Linked DNA regions of Homo sapiens: all the other regions are linked to region 4. The links are contacts of gene promoters, found by promoter capture Hi-C in blood cells and fetal thymus (Javierre and others, 2016). All regions are on one chromosome and are shown on one strand. The core of a region is centred on a gene start or on the middle of the fragment in contact, and the rest is flanking DNA. Distances in the headings are between cores, read along the strand shown. Region 1 overlaps LOC105374510 (a long non-coding RNA gene). Region 2 overlaps LOC105374510 (a long non-coding RNA gene). Region 3 overlaps LOC105374510 (a long non-coding RNA gene). Region 4 holds the start of FAM184B (family with sequence similarity 184 member B). Region 5 has its middle 340 kb from the start of LCORL.

The links. Contacts are between HindIII fragments. The CHiCAGO score rates a contact against its expected background, and 5 or more counts as called.
Region 1: a fragment that was not itself captured here is called in contact with the fragment with the promoter of FAM184B in region 4 in 1 of 17 cell types (naive B cells); the score reaches 5.7 in naive B cells.
Region 2: a fragment that was not itself captured here is called in contact with the fragment with the promoter of FAM184B in region 4 in 2 of 17 cell types (endothelial precursors and total B cells); the score reaches 7.1 in endothelial precursors.
Region 3: a contact is called between a fragment that was not itself captured here and the fragment with the promoter of FAM184B in region 4, in 8 of 17 cell types (total B cells, endothelial precursors, naive CD8 T cells and 5 more). The highest score is 12.5, in total B cells.
Region 5: a contact is called between a fragment that was not itself captured here and the fragment with the promoter of FAM184B in region 4, in 1 of 17 cell types (M0 macrophages). The highest score is 5.7, in M0 macrophages.

Annotation. Positions count from the first base shown.
Region 1 is chr4:18,615,364-18,618,063 of GRCh38, reverse strand. All of the region lies in intron 1 of LOC105374510 (a long non-coding RNA gene), which reads right to left. Among named protein-coding and RNA genes, the nearest start is that of LCORL, 590 kb to the right of the region's middle. The HindIII fragment of the contact is 1,904 bases long and covers 381-2,284 here.
Region 2 is chr4:18,567,081-18,569,780 of GRCh38, reverse strand. All of the region lies in intron 1 of LOC105374510 (a long non-coding RNA gene), which reads right to left. Among named protein-coding and RNA genes, the nearest start is that of LCORL, 550 kb to the right of the region's middle. The HindIII fragment of the contact is 2,072 bases long and covers 219-2,290 here.
Region 3 is chr4:18,591,864-18,594,563 of GRCh38, reverse strand. The region is part of intron 1 of LOC105374510 (a long non-coding RNA gene); the gene reads right to left. Among named protein-coding and RNA genes, the nearest start is that of LCORL, 570 kb to the right of the region's middle. The HindIII fragment of the contact is 4,680 bases long and covers 1-2,700 here.
Region 4 is chr4:17,780,303-17,783,002 of GRCh38, reverse strand. FAM184B (family with sequence similarity 184 member B) reads left to right here and starts at 1,382. Exons shown (of 18, transcript NM_015688.2): 1 at 1,382-1,844. The coding sequence starts at 1,704. The HindIII fragment of the contact is 8,098 bases long and covers 400-2,700 here.
Region 5 is chr4:18,360,970-18,363,669 of GRCh38, reverse strand. No RefSeq gene overlaps it. Among named protein-coding and RNA genes, the nearest start is that of LCORL, 340 kb to the right of the region's middle. The HindIII fragment of the contact is 3,222 bases long and covers 1-2,700 here.

The DNA.
Region 1 (2,700 bases), core at 83-2,582, 840 kb before region 4:
AAGTTCTCCTCTTTTCATATCACTAGAGTGGTGTCTACCTAATCTTTCTAGCTCTTTATCACAATATGGGGAATTTTTTTCAAAAAATAAATCTCTTCTACTAGATTGTTAACTCTTTTGGGGTAGGGACTATGTCTCTCTCATTCAGAGTTATAATCTAAATTTGTAACATAGTACCTGACATATAGTATCCACACATATGTGTTGAATTAATGAATACAATGAATATGTAGTAAATGAAGCAAAGCTTCTGTAAATGTCTGAATGACCCATGTTCTCTCAGGTGTTTTCATGTTTAATACATCATCTTGGAATGCACTCCCCTTTGATGTTTCTGGCCAACCATTCCCAGAGCAGCAGTCGTCCCCTCTAGAAAAGCTTCTCCATATCCCTCTCCACCTCCCAAAGCTATTTCTGTTGCCATACTTCATTCTTCCGACTTCTATAATGGATAGATTTTCTGTTCTCCTCCACCAGTTTATGAGCCCTTCCAGAACAATGTCCTGTTTGTCTTTGCAAACCAGCTCCTAACATTTAGTAGACAAAATACATTCTCATTTAATGCACTGTATGTAAATGATAGATGGATGATTATAACAAGCTATTTGAATATTTATCTGTAAATGTTACATTGACTCTGTTAGAAAATTGCCTTTTAACACAGTTTTTTAAATCACTTCTTAGACACTGGCCACATTACCAGTATATGATGCTATTCTTGTCTCAAAATCAAGGCACTGAAGTCTGCCATTTGGGACCTGTTGAGGGACCTGTGAAAATCAATTTCCTACAATAAATTGTCTTAAGCTAAAGGTCAACACACTTAAACTGAAACTCAAAGGTTTCTTTAAATTCACTGAAACAAGCCCTTTCATTTGGCATATGCTTCCCAAGACAAATTTTCTCTTCCAAAATTGGAAGAGGCCACATCTATGTTTTAACACTGATTTGTGAATATTCCCTGGAATAATTTATATCTTTTTAGTTTTGTTTGTTTGTTTTGTTTTGTTTTTTTTTTTTTGAAACAGAGTTTTGTTCTTGTTGCCCAGGCTGGAGTGCAATGGCATGATTTCGGCTCACTGCAAGCTCTGCTTCCTGGCTTCAGGTGATTCTCCTGCCTCAGCAAGTAGCTGGGATTACAAGAGCGTGCCGCCACGCCCAGCTAATTTTTGTTGTTAGTAGAGACAGGGCTTTGCCATGTTGGCCATGCTCGTCTTGAACTCCTGACCTCAGGTGATCTGCCAGCCTCTGCCTTACAAAGTGCTGAGATTACAGGCATGAGCCATCGTGCCTGGCCCCTTTTAATGTTATGGTTTATGAACTTATTAAAGTGCAAAGATTTTATGATCTTTCTAACTGTAGAATAGCATAGCTTGTTTATTAAACTGCAGAGTCACTGTAGAGGTCCTGATTCTTTGATTTAGCTTACTATAAAGTAGGAATAAATAAACCAATCAATAAGTAAATTTAAGTATCTTTAACTTTGCTGATTGTGACCACTCATCTATGGGATTTGGCCCACGTGAAGCAGATCACAGAATGTGGTTGCTTCTACTGTTTTCCATAGGAAATCCAGTCATGTTCATAACCCTATACTACTTATTAGATCTGTTCTGTGAAGATTACATGGTGGTTCTAAGACCCTGGAAAGATCAGCTTTTGGATAATAGAAAGTAATTATTGCAGCTTCTAGTTATGCTTTCCACTTTGGAAAGTCACTGCTCACAACAACAGAAAAAAGAGAAGAGGTTTAACACCAACATTTAAATGCTCTGGCCCAGAGGCAACATGTCACGTTTGCCCAATATCATAAGCTGGAAATACTCATATAACAACACCTAACCCCAAAGTAACACAGAAATCCTCAAACATACCTAGAAGTAGAGGGGAACCAGATATCAGAAAAGAACAATGATGTCTGCAACTCTAATCTTCACCAAGTGAACAAATAAATTGAAAAAAATTTCCTTCAAAGACATCATTGATTGAAGAAAATACTGCAAATGCAAGCGCAAAATGTGAACACGAATAAGAAAAAAGTCAAAGTTGATTTTCTTCCTCCTATTCCTACTATTAGTAAAATAAACAATAAGCTCATAAAATCAAATGTAAAGTCAGATATCCAATTAATGACATTATTAAGAATACTTTGATATCTGTGGTCATTAAAAATGATCCTTGCCCTGCATGTATATTTGCCAATGATAGTAGTACATGTACTTGATTTACAAATTAATATCTACACCTAGGTAGATAACTAAATTATAAGCCTACATTAAAAGCTTTCTCTCTCTCTCTCCATCCCTCCCTTCCTTTCTCTCCCTCTGTGTACATATCTATGTATATATAGATAATGCAAATAATGTAAAATAAATATGTGTGTGAATAAGTGTTATAGCGATCTGAAACTTGGACCTGTTAAGAACACTATTTCTGAGAAACTATTTTACATGGAAACCTCAGAAATGTGCTGAGTTACTGTAGACCAGTCATTTACGTCCAATGATAAGATAGCAATGTATTCAGAATATGTGGAACATTTAGAGAAGGGTGAATAGATATGGTGCGGAATAGGAGGTCATGGGAATGACAAAAGCAAATGTCTCATACCCAGTTGAATTTACCTTTTGATTTGGTATTTTCATCAGCCACTATATGTCTGTGTAGGGAAATTTGAGAGATTTGGGGAGTGTGTACCTC
Region 2 (2,700 bases), core at 5-2,504, 790 kb before region 4:
GATCATAGTCAGTGTAATATCTCTCATTAAATAAGAGAATGTAAATGACATCTCTGAAATCAAGCCACTAGCTTTAAAGCACTATGCAAATATAAGGAATTATTATCATTAGCTAGTCTGGTGATTTCAACTAACTAATCCCACCTAATACCAGCATTTTATTTGGAGTACTCTGTAATTAACTTCAGATTCTCATCCCGCTTTTATTCAGCAAAGCTTTACTGAGTACCATTTTTTATCACATACTTTCAGGCAGATAGGAGTCATGATGCCGAATAAAACAAACAGTGCCAGATATGGGTGGCTTTTCATACAGATGGCATAACTAGACACCTACATGCACTCAAAGGGACTCAAATGCTACGTTTCTTTTACTCCAAACCATCTCACTATCATTACTCTCTGTGCCTGAAACTCCCAAAGGAGGAGAGCTAACTCTTAGTGCCTACAATATGCCATACACTAAACCATGTGGTTTAACTGTATTTGTTATAATCAGGTAACTTTCAGAGGCAACTATCCTCCATGCAGTATTTAGTGCTCAGGATACTTTCATCTTGTGACTTCGCCGTCTCCAAACAAGCCCTCCTTCAGGCTGCCAATAGGGAAGAGAGATTGAAGAATTTGGCAATGACTTTTTACTGCCTTAGGCTGGAAACGATCTGTGTCACTTCTGCTCATAGCCCTTTGTCTGAAATCATTAAAATGGCCTGGACAAACTCTAAAGGGGCTGAGAATTCTGGTCTTCTGTGCTCAAAAGAACATGGCAAACTAATAACGTCTACAACCACATCCACAATTTTCTTCCTACAAAAGATGATGCAGTCTTAGAAAGTACAGGTAACCTTTCCAAGGTGATTCAGCAGAGCGTGGTTTAGAACTGCAGTCTGCTTGGTTTCAAAACACAGGCTTTATTTCATTTTCCACCACAACAACCTACCACTTGGTGGAACCATTCCTCTAGGAATTGCTTACTAAGATATTCATTTTCAAGTGGCATGTACTAAAAAGTACGTTCTGAATGCCTTACCCCAATCTGATCCTAAGGCAATGAGCTCTCTCCCATATGTGAACAACTCTCACAGAGACTTTACCTGTCTTGAGTCTTTTTGCATCCTCTACCATCTGAAAATTCTGTATGTGGCTCTAAAACTCTATTTACAGAAAGCTGTTACTTAAGAAGCCACTTTTTCATCCTCCCTTTATCCAGTCTCTGCTTTCAGGAAAGACTACAACATCCATGCTGTGTCATTACAGTCAAGGAAAGTCAACATATTCTATTTTCCATCCATCCCCTATTCCTTCATCAGACACCACTAAGTGGTTACCTGAAGGAGGAAAGCAGTGTCTGAGAAGAAGGGAGAATGTTTGGGGCCAGTGTTTAATGTCTTCCCTGAAAACCCCATGACACCATAGATCTGACTTGATATTTTTCTTTCTACTGATTTTGTATGGCTGACTTAAGAAAGCAAACAACGATAACAACAAAAATACTAGTACAAAAGCATAGGAATACAATTAAGCAAAACTTGAAAACTGAGTTGGCAGAGTAGCAGCCTGCTAACTTTTCATCATTGCCAAAAGATGAATGGCAATGCCTGTTCTCACAAAATTTTTAGGAGAAGATAAACAATGTGAAAAAAGTACAGCTCAAGAAAGAAGCTGTCAAATACCTTTGCATGTCCAGAGGAAAAAGAGACCATGTCCTGCTAAGGTAATCAGTGAAGGCTTCATGGGGGAATTGGCATTTGATAATAATAACAACACTAATGATAAAATGGAAATAAAGCCAAAATAACATGAATAGACCTAATTATACCAGGAATTTTCCCAAACACTTTATATATTCATAACTCTTTTATATATTTGTTAACTCATTTAGTCGTTAGGATAATTCTAGCAGATATTTATTTACTCATTCAATACATATTTACTGAGTTCCTGCTCTGTGCAGGTAGTCTATGAGCTGAGGTTATGGCAAAGAGCAAGATAGAAAATGTCGTTACTCCCTTGCCACTGTCTACTGAGAGCTACCAGTATAATTTTTATTTTACACAAAACTGAGGTATGAAGGAGTTAAGTATACTACTAAAGGTCACACACACTTTCAGTGTCCAAGTCAGGATTGGATTGCAGCCAGTAAGGCACAGAGCATGTTTATCTACTACATTTTTCCAACAGTGACTAAGTGGGGTAATAGTGATAACAACGGCAGACAGACAGATTCCTAGGCAGATAGGGATGGATCCCTAGTGAAAGTTGACCTTCAGGCCAAGGATAGTCTAAAGCTTGAAAACAGAGCTACCAGTTACAGATAGAATCCACGAACTACAGTGAGAACTTTCATCCCTGTTTTGTCCGCTCTCGTTTGATTGGTTCTTTCTGAATGATGCCTTTTAACCAATCAAATGATGCCTTTTCCAAGCCTACCCATAAATTCTCCATTCTAAGCCCATAAAAATCCCAGACTCAGCCTCATAGATGGCTATCCACTTTTGGGTCCCTTCTCACTGTCAAGGGCTTTTCTTTGGCTCCATAAATTCTACTCTGTCTTACCCCCTCTCCAGTGTCCACATACCTTAGTACTCTTGGTCATAGGACAAGAACCCGGAACTCGCCAAACTGCTGGAGTGAAAGAGCTGTAACACTTCTGCTTGCTGAGCTGCGGGCAGCAGGAGTAAAGGAGCTGTAACGCTCCCT
Region 3 (2,700 bases), core at 191-2,690, 810 kb before region 4:
AATATTGGTGTAGCATTTTACATTTTAAAAAAGCAATTTTTCAGCAAACAATCAACATAATATCTTAGTTAAAAATGGTTGGGAGGCCGAGGTGGGCGGATCACAAGGTCAAGAGATCGAGACCATCCTGGCCAACATGGTGAAACCCCGTCTCTACTAAAAATACAAAAATTAGCTGGGCGTGGTGGCGTGTGCCTGTAGTCCCAGCTGTTCGGGAGGCTGAGGCAGGAGAATGGCTTGAACCCAGGAGGTGGAGGTTGCAGGGAGCCGAGATCGCACCACTGCACTCCTGCTTGGCGACAGAGCGAGACTCCATCTCAAAAGAAAAAAAAAAAGGTAATATTCACAGCATTTCTTCAGAACAATAAACTATGGACCAAGGAAATGAAAAAACTTGTTTCAGATCATACCCCTAAAAAGTGGCAGCATTCAAATAGCAGCACTTTGGTTAGCAAATCCCACTTTTCTCCCCGAAATTTTATGACACCATTACATCTAGAGTTGCGATGCATATATTACTGTATCTCCCTTACCTTATGAAATAGGGAAGCATGGAGATTCTCATCCTTATTTCCTAGAACAGAAACTTCAAAGTACCAATGATTTAAAGTTACAGTCACGCTAATGGGAGGATTAGCAGTTAGCACCCAATCAAGTACACTCAGCCCCTTTATGTGAGACAACCGTTTACCTAAACAATCACGATAGTTTGTGACTATCGTGAAACAATCCCAGTCGAAGAAGCGCAATGCTTCTGTCCCATTAATGTTAAGGAAAATCCTCTTCGACTGAAGGATTTGGGCGAGGTTTTCTCAGTTTGACCACATGGTGGCAGTATTACCATGCATTGAAAGACTTCCAGCCCCAGCAGTTCAGAATAAGAGTGCGCTGCCAATTGGCTCAGAAAAACATCCTTTTGTGTCCTCTTTGACTTCGAGATGTGCAAAAAAAGATAGCAAGCTGTGTGGTCTCTGAATAGAGAGCTCTGTTTCTTCTTTCCAGCTTACTAGAAGGATATGGGTGCCGAGTGAGAGGCAATACTACAGCAGCCTAATGAGCCAATTATTTTGTTTGGCACAAATATCACTAGGGACTTAGAGAAAGGTGCTTTCATACAAGAAGGAAAGCAAAACACAACTAACAACTACAATTTCAGGCAAATCATGGACTTAAAACGTGTCCCTGAGTTTAAGTTTTATTATCTTGTCTCTTTATGTGACTTTCCAACAAGGAGCAAAGAAATATTTGGTTTGGCATTTTTCATTTTTATTGGTGACTTCTTCAAATTGACACAAGTTGTATTTGTCTAGCAATAAATCCACAGTGCAGCCTGCTTGCCAATCTATGCATTCAAAATATTTCATCTTGATTATATATATCAGGTGCACCAAAGGGACTATCTCATTTAATCTTAAAGTAATTGTGTATAATAGGTGTCATTATTTTCATTTTACACAGGAAGAAAGTAAAGTAAAAAAAAAAATAAACTAACTTCAGCTCCCAAAGACAGTAAATACACAGAATCTGAACAATCTAATGCATAAACCCACAATTTTCCTCCCCATCACACTCATTTTACATTCAAAATAATTTCTCTCCCATTAAAAATTATTTTTTTATTATTCAAATGTATTTTTAAATTTTTAAGTAGAGAAGTTTCAAGAAAGAAACAAAAAATCATGCAGGCTTTTTTTTTTTTTTTTTTTTTTGACTGAGTCTCATTCTATCGCCCAGGCTGCAGTGCGGCGGCATGATCTCGGCTCACTGCAACCTCTGCCTTCCAGGCTCAAGGAGCTCAAGCAAATTCTCATGCCTCAGACTCTCAGACAGCTGGGATTTCAAGTGTGTGCCACCATACCCCGCTAATTTTTTGTATTTTTAGTAGAGACAGGGCTTCACAATGTTGCCCAGGCTAGTCTCAAACTCCTGAGCTGTGGCAATCCACCCACCTTGGCTTCCGAAAGTGCTGGGATTACAGGCATGAACCACTGCACCTAGCCCGTTTTTTCTTCTCTCTCTCTCTCTTTTTAACATAGATTCCATAGCAAGGATGTATTGTAATTAATTTGACAGATCCTAACGGTTTATTTCCTCTCTGTATGATCTTAACTAAGAAAATGTATGGTTAGTTTTCTTTTAATTTAAAAATGACATCATAGCACCACACCAACAGACTAAATATGGTTAAAGAGTGGTTGGACCAGAAAGAAACTAATACAATAAAAAGAAATACTGTTTTTATGGTTTTGAAAACTATCACATAACCGCACTGCCGATCACCTTAAGGCTGCAGCAAGGAGCACTTAGGGGGCCAGGGACAGAGCCCAGCTGAGATTAGAAGGGAAATCATCTTTCCCCTGGGTGTTCAAATCCTCCTTCACAGGAGGTGCTCTCTGGCAGGCATTTACCTAAGATAAATGATCCACATGCTCTAGGCTCATGGTCATAGGTTCATCTACACACTTGTTTCCACTAGCAACTTGTCCCTGATTTTCCATTCGTGATCCTTTCATTATTCCACCCAAACCATTTGCCACTGCCCAGAAGTGTGTGCACGGGTGTGTGTATGTGTGCATATGCCTGCATCTTAGCAGGCAACATCTCCCACCACACCAAGCTCATGACCAGGTGTTTAAAACTCTGCCCAGCCAAAGTATTCTATTTCATCATTGTCCTTTAATGGTGCTATAATAGAACAAT
Region 4 (2,700 bases), core at 133-2,632:
ACACAGTGGTTGAATTCCTGTAAAATTTAGTATATATTAAGATCCTGCAGAAAATATTCTAAATACACAATTTGGAATTAAGCAGAGAGCTGTTTAATGTGGATTCCTGACCCCCTGACCCCCATCCTCAGAGGCTTTGTCTCTGTTTTCTAAAGGAACTGGGGGAGGGAGGGGTTGTGCTAAAAAGAGAACTTAAGATGGTAAATTAGAAATCAAAAACCGAGGCCGGTCATTTGATACAGAATCTAGAATAGGAATGTCTATTTCAGAAACAGTTCTACTTGTAATTGCCTGACTTGGTACAAATTTTCTGGGTCAATTTTCCTCATCGACAAAAATGGGTTTTGTTACCTTCAGTATGGATGGGTGGAACTGTGGTTTCTGAGACCCTTTGAAGCTTGCTTGGTTTATGAAGATTATTAAAATTTCTGATAAAAGGCAATGTATAAATGATATACATTCACTATGCAAACTATCATGAAGACCTATTATTCGAGCTTTAGGAAAAGCTGATCACGGTGCTGTCACTTTCCCTTAAAGTCCACTGTCTGAAACCAGAGAACACGCCAGAAAGAAATTTGGCCCGCTAACCTCTCCCCTCACCAAACACTAAACAGACACCAGCTCAGAATCCGAAAACTTGACAGTCTGGCTCCAGTCTGCCCAAGGCCAGTAGTGTGGATTTGGACGACTCACTTTACTTTCAATGGGCTCGGTTTGCTAAGATTTTCAGTTCCATCTTTTACTCATCTAACTGCTCCATTCCTCTTTGCTTCTTCCTTTCCCGCACCTGCCACCATCCTTTCTACCTCCCTAACGACTTTGTCTTTGCGTTCCTACCGCTTCCCGCATTACCCGTTTCGCACTTTCTCATCTCAGATTTCGGTCACCCGCACCCTGCCATCCCCTTGGCTTCTCCTCTTTGGGCATCTCCGGTATTCCTCCCGCAATGTCCTGGCTCCTCTCCAAGATCCAAAAAGGAAGGCTACCATCCCCAGCCCCGCTGTGCACTCGCGCAACTCAGGCGCTGGCCCACACCGTGCGCCCCGGATCCCACACCTCCTTGAGTCCCGATGGCTCGCCCTCACCTACCCGCCCCTCTCTTAGCATCTCGTCCCCCACCGCCATCTCCGCTATCAGCTCGGAGACTCGGGAGCCGCCAGTCACTGTGCCCTGTCCCTCTCCGGAGGCCGCCAGTCACTGTGCCCTGTCCCTCTCCGGAGGCTCTTCTTCCTCTTTAGCCTGGGATCCCCACCTCGGGCAGGGTCCGTCGCCACCAAGTCCAGGGCCGCGCGCCACCCACGTGTCCAAGAGCGCAGTGCCCGCCCACCGCAAACCCCCCAAGGCCGGCAGCTCCTAGCCGCGGAAGCTCTCCCCTTGCACACGAAACCTGCACTGGCTGGGGAACTGCAGACTGATCGCCAGCGGCACGTGCGGGGCGCCGACGCCTCGCCGCAGGGTGCGGGTGCCCGCGGAGCCAGCCAGCCAGAGAACCAGCAGGAGAGGAAAAAGGGTGGGCGCGCGGGTGGGCCCGGGAGGCGGAGACCTTCGGGAAGCTGGGGCCACGCGGCGGTGCAGGCGACGGGACTGCAGTGCCACCTCTCCCGAGAAACCCACACGCTCGCACGCCCGCGCGCGCACGCACGTGCACACGGTGGGCAGGGAGAAAACGAGAGAGTCTGAGTGCTGGGCGCGTTTTAGCGATGGCTTCTGCTCTCAACAGCAAAATTAACCCGCCCGGCACTTGCCAGGGCTCCAAAGCCGACGGTGGCGCCGGCTGGAGAATGGACTGTGATCCCCAGATGCACGTGAAAATGTGCAAGAAGATCGCCCAGCTCACCAAGGTAAGGTGGGGCGCAGCGGGCCAGCGAGCTGCACGCCCGGGGCGCCCGAGCCGGGAGTCAGTGCGGATGCGCCTCCCGGGAGGCCCGGGCCAAATCCAGACAGAAACTTTGTCTCGGAGGCCAACCGGGAAGGGAAGCGGTCCTAAATCTGGGTGACTTGACCTTCTAGAGGCACCATCCTAAAGCAGCAGAGAAAGAGGATCCTTGCCAAGGAAACTCCCACAGCCTGCTGGCTGGGCAGGTGGTCTGTGCTTTTCCAAGGTGGGAATGTGAATCGTGTGTGTGTGTGTGTCCCCGCCAGCTTTGCTCAAGTGCCTAGAATGTTGTGATTTCATTCAACTGCCATACTTTACAGCTGGGGAGGTCATGTGGGCTCTATTTAAACACTTGATCCATTTATTCCTTCATTCAACAAATATTTGCGTCATTTGTTGAGTGCCAGCAGCTTGCGTGGCACCGTACTAAACCTGGAATGCAGCCTAGGGGACTTACTATCAAACTGGGTGCAGACGTGTGTAGGAGCATAAATGGGGAAGAGCACGATTCACCAAATAACTATGGGATTAGGAAGGACCTAGGGAAGTCAGCCAGCCCACCTCCTTACCTCGTGCAGGGGGCTCTGATTGAACCTTCCCAGACTATGTCTTTTTCAAGAAGACCAGCAAAAAGATGCCACCAGTGCTCTTTGTTAACCCTCTGCAGCTCCCCAATTAGAAGCTCCTTGTCACAGACTCCCCTCTGTGCCTTGTCTAGATGGAAAACAACATCCCTCACTGTCTCCTATACAAGGTTTCAAGTGGATGAATTTAGCTGTTTGCCTTGGGGTTTCCTTTCGGTCTCATAATAAACTCCTGGT
Region 5 (2,700 bases), core at 88-2,587, 580 kb before region 4:
TATACTGGAGACCGGGCCATTTACAAAAGAGGTTTAATGGACTCACAGTTCCACATGGCTGGGGAGACCTCACAATCATGTGAAGGGCAAATCTCATATGGTGGCAGACAAGAGAAGAGAACTTGTGCCGGGAAGCTCCCCTTTATAAAACCATCAGATTTCATGAGACTTATTCGCTATCATGAGAACAGCACAGGAAAGACCTGCCACCATGATTCAATTACCTCCCACTGGGTCCCTCCCATGACACGTGGGAATCGTAGGAGCCACAGTTCAAGATGAGATTTGGGTAGGGACACAGCCAAACCATATCACCATCCATCCAGCAATCATGCTTCTAAATATTTACCCAAATAAGTTGAAAGACTATGTCTGCACAAAAATTTGCACAAGATGTCTTTTAAAGGTGAATAAATAAACAAACTATGGTAGACCCATACAATGGAATATTATTCAGTGATAGAAAGAAATGAGCTTTCAAGTCACAAGAAGACAAGGATGAACCTTATATGTATAATGCTAAGTAAAAAAAAAAGCCAATGGGGAAAGACTACATACTGTATGATTCCAATTCTATGACATGCTGGAAAAAGCAAAGCTATAGAGGTGGTAAAAAGGTCAGATTTCAGAGAGAAGATGGGAAAGGTAAGGGTTGTGTAGGTGAAGCATGAAAGATGGGATCTTTTTTAGGGCAGTGGAACTATTCTGAATGACACTGTGATGACGGATACATTATACTCTTGTGTCAAAAATCCATTGAATTTCAAAACACAGTGAACATCAATAATTGTAATTTTTAACTAAATATTTTGGAATCCAAGAATGGAATCTGGAATTTAGGAAAACATTATGACAGTACTACAAGTGTACAAAACAACTTCGCTGAAGGACATGAAAGAATAAAGGTGGTAATCTAAACAACTTTAGAAATGTGTGAAGTCTGTAAGAGCAAAGGCAAAAGAAATTATATCTAGGTATTGTAGTCTAATGAATAAAGTTGTTTACCACAGAGGTATTGACTTACAATTCTTATACAATTATAAATGTAAACAGAAATTAAACAATTAGGTAGATGGATGGAAGATAGTGGGAGCCACTTCATACTGTTGGAGTTAGAGGTTACAAATTAGCAAGAGACAGTCTAGAGTAATCTGTGTGCTTACATTTTAGGGCTGGAGACATCGGTAACAACTCTGTTTAGCTTAACACAAATAGTTCCACATAGAAATATTTATAGATATAAGAGTATAGACTGGTTCTTATGTATGAATATATCCTTAGTCTGTCAGCTGATAGGGCCTAAAGTGACAACACCCCAGTAGCAATGAACAAGCCTAGTACCTAGATCTTGGGGTTAGTATCATTCTTCAGCACTTCTTTTTGTAGAAATGCCTGATTCTAGGACTGGGAAAGGAAATACAGAAAATGAGACTGGAGCATCCTGTAGTGCCAGAAAGTAAGGAAATGCTCAAATTTTAATTAGTTAATTATGAGAATATGTCAAAAGGGCACAAAAGTCACTTGAAAGAGTTCCTAATGGCCAAAACTGGAAAAGTTTGTATAACAAAATAAATTAAGTAATAGATGAAATCTGCTATGGCTTCAATGTTTGTCATTTCCAAAAGTCATGATGAAATTTTGTTGCCATTGTAACAGTATTAAAAAATGGGATCTTTAAAAGGCGATTAACCAATGAGGGCACCACCCTCGTGGATAGGATTGATGTTGTTATGAAAGGGTGTTTGCATCCCTTTTTCCCCCTCTCTCTTGCCCTCTCTTGCTGTTCTACCATGTGATGACACAGTGAGAAGGCCCTCACCAGATGCTAGCACCTTGATATTGGACTTCCCAGCCTCCAGAATTGTGAGTCAATAAATTTCTGTTAATCATAAATTACCCAGTCTTGGGCATTCTATAATAGCAGTACAAAGCAAACTAAGATATAGCTCAAAGTATAAAATAAATATTGATAGGCCAGACGCAGTGGCTCATACCTGTAATCCCACCGCTTTGGGAGGCCGAGGTGGGCAGATCATGAAGTCAGGAGTTCGAGACCAGACTGACCAACAGCGTGAAACCCCGTCTCTACTAAAAATAAAAAAATTAGCTGGGTATGGTGGTGCGCACCTGTAATCCCAGCTACTCAGGAGGCGGAGGCAGAAGAATCGCTTGAACCCAGGAGACAGAGGTTGCAGTGAGCCAAGATCGCGCCATTGCACTCCAGCCTGGGTGACAGAGTGAGACTCCATCTCAAGAAAATTAATTAATTAATTAATTAAATATTGATGAATCAATACAAATACAAATAAATTTTTGAATGACTAAATAGATTTGGAGAAGACAAAATCTCCCATGTGGAATTCTGAATAATTTATGTAGATACTCTCTCCTTCAGGAAACAAAACAGTTCCCCATTCCTTCAGTGTAGGCTCCATGTGTTGATATATTTTCAAAGAACACAATATGAAAAACAGAAGGAAGAAAAGTTACTTTACAATGAAGAAACCTAACAAAAAATACTCAACCAGGTGATAAAAGTTAACATCAAAAATAGTCACATTTATAGTAAGTACTCTTGATACGACATGATAAAAATGTCCCTTTACCACTGTGGTATTCTTCCTCAAAACACACAACCCCGGTCTAACAATGAGAAAAACATCAGGCAAGTTCAAATTGAGGAACATTCAACAAAATACC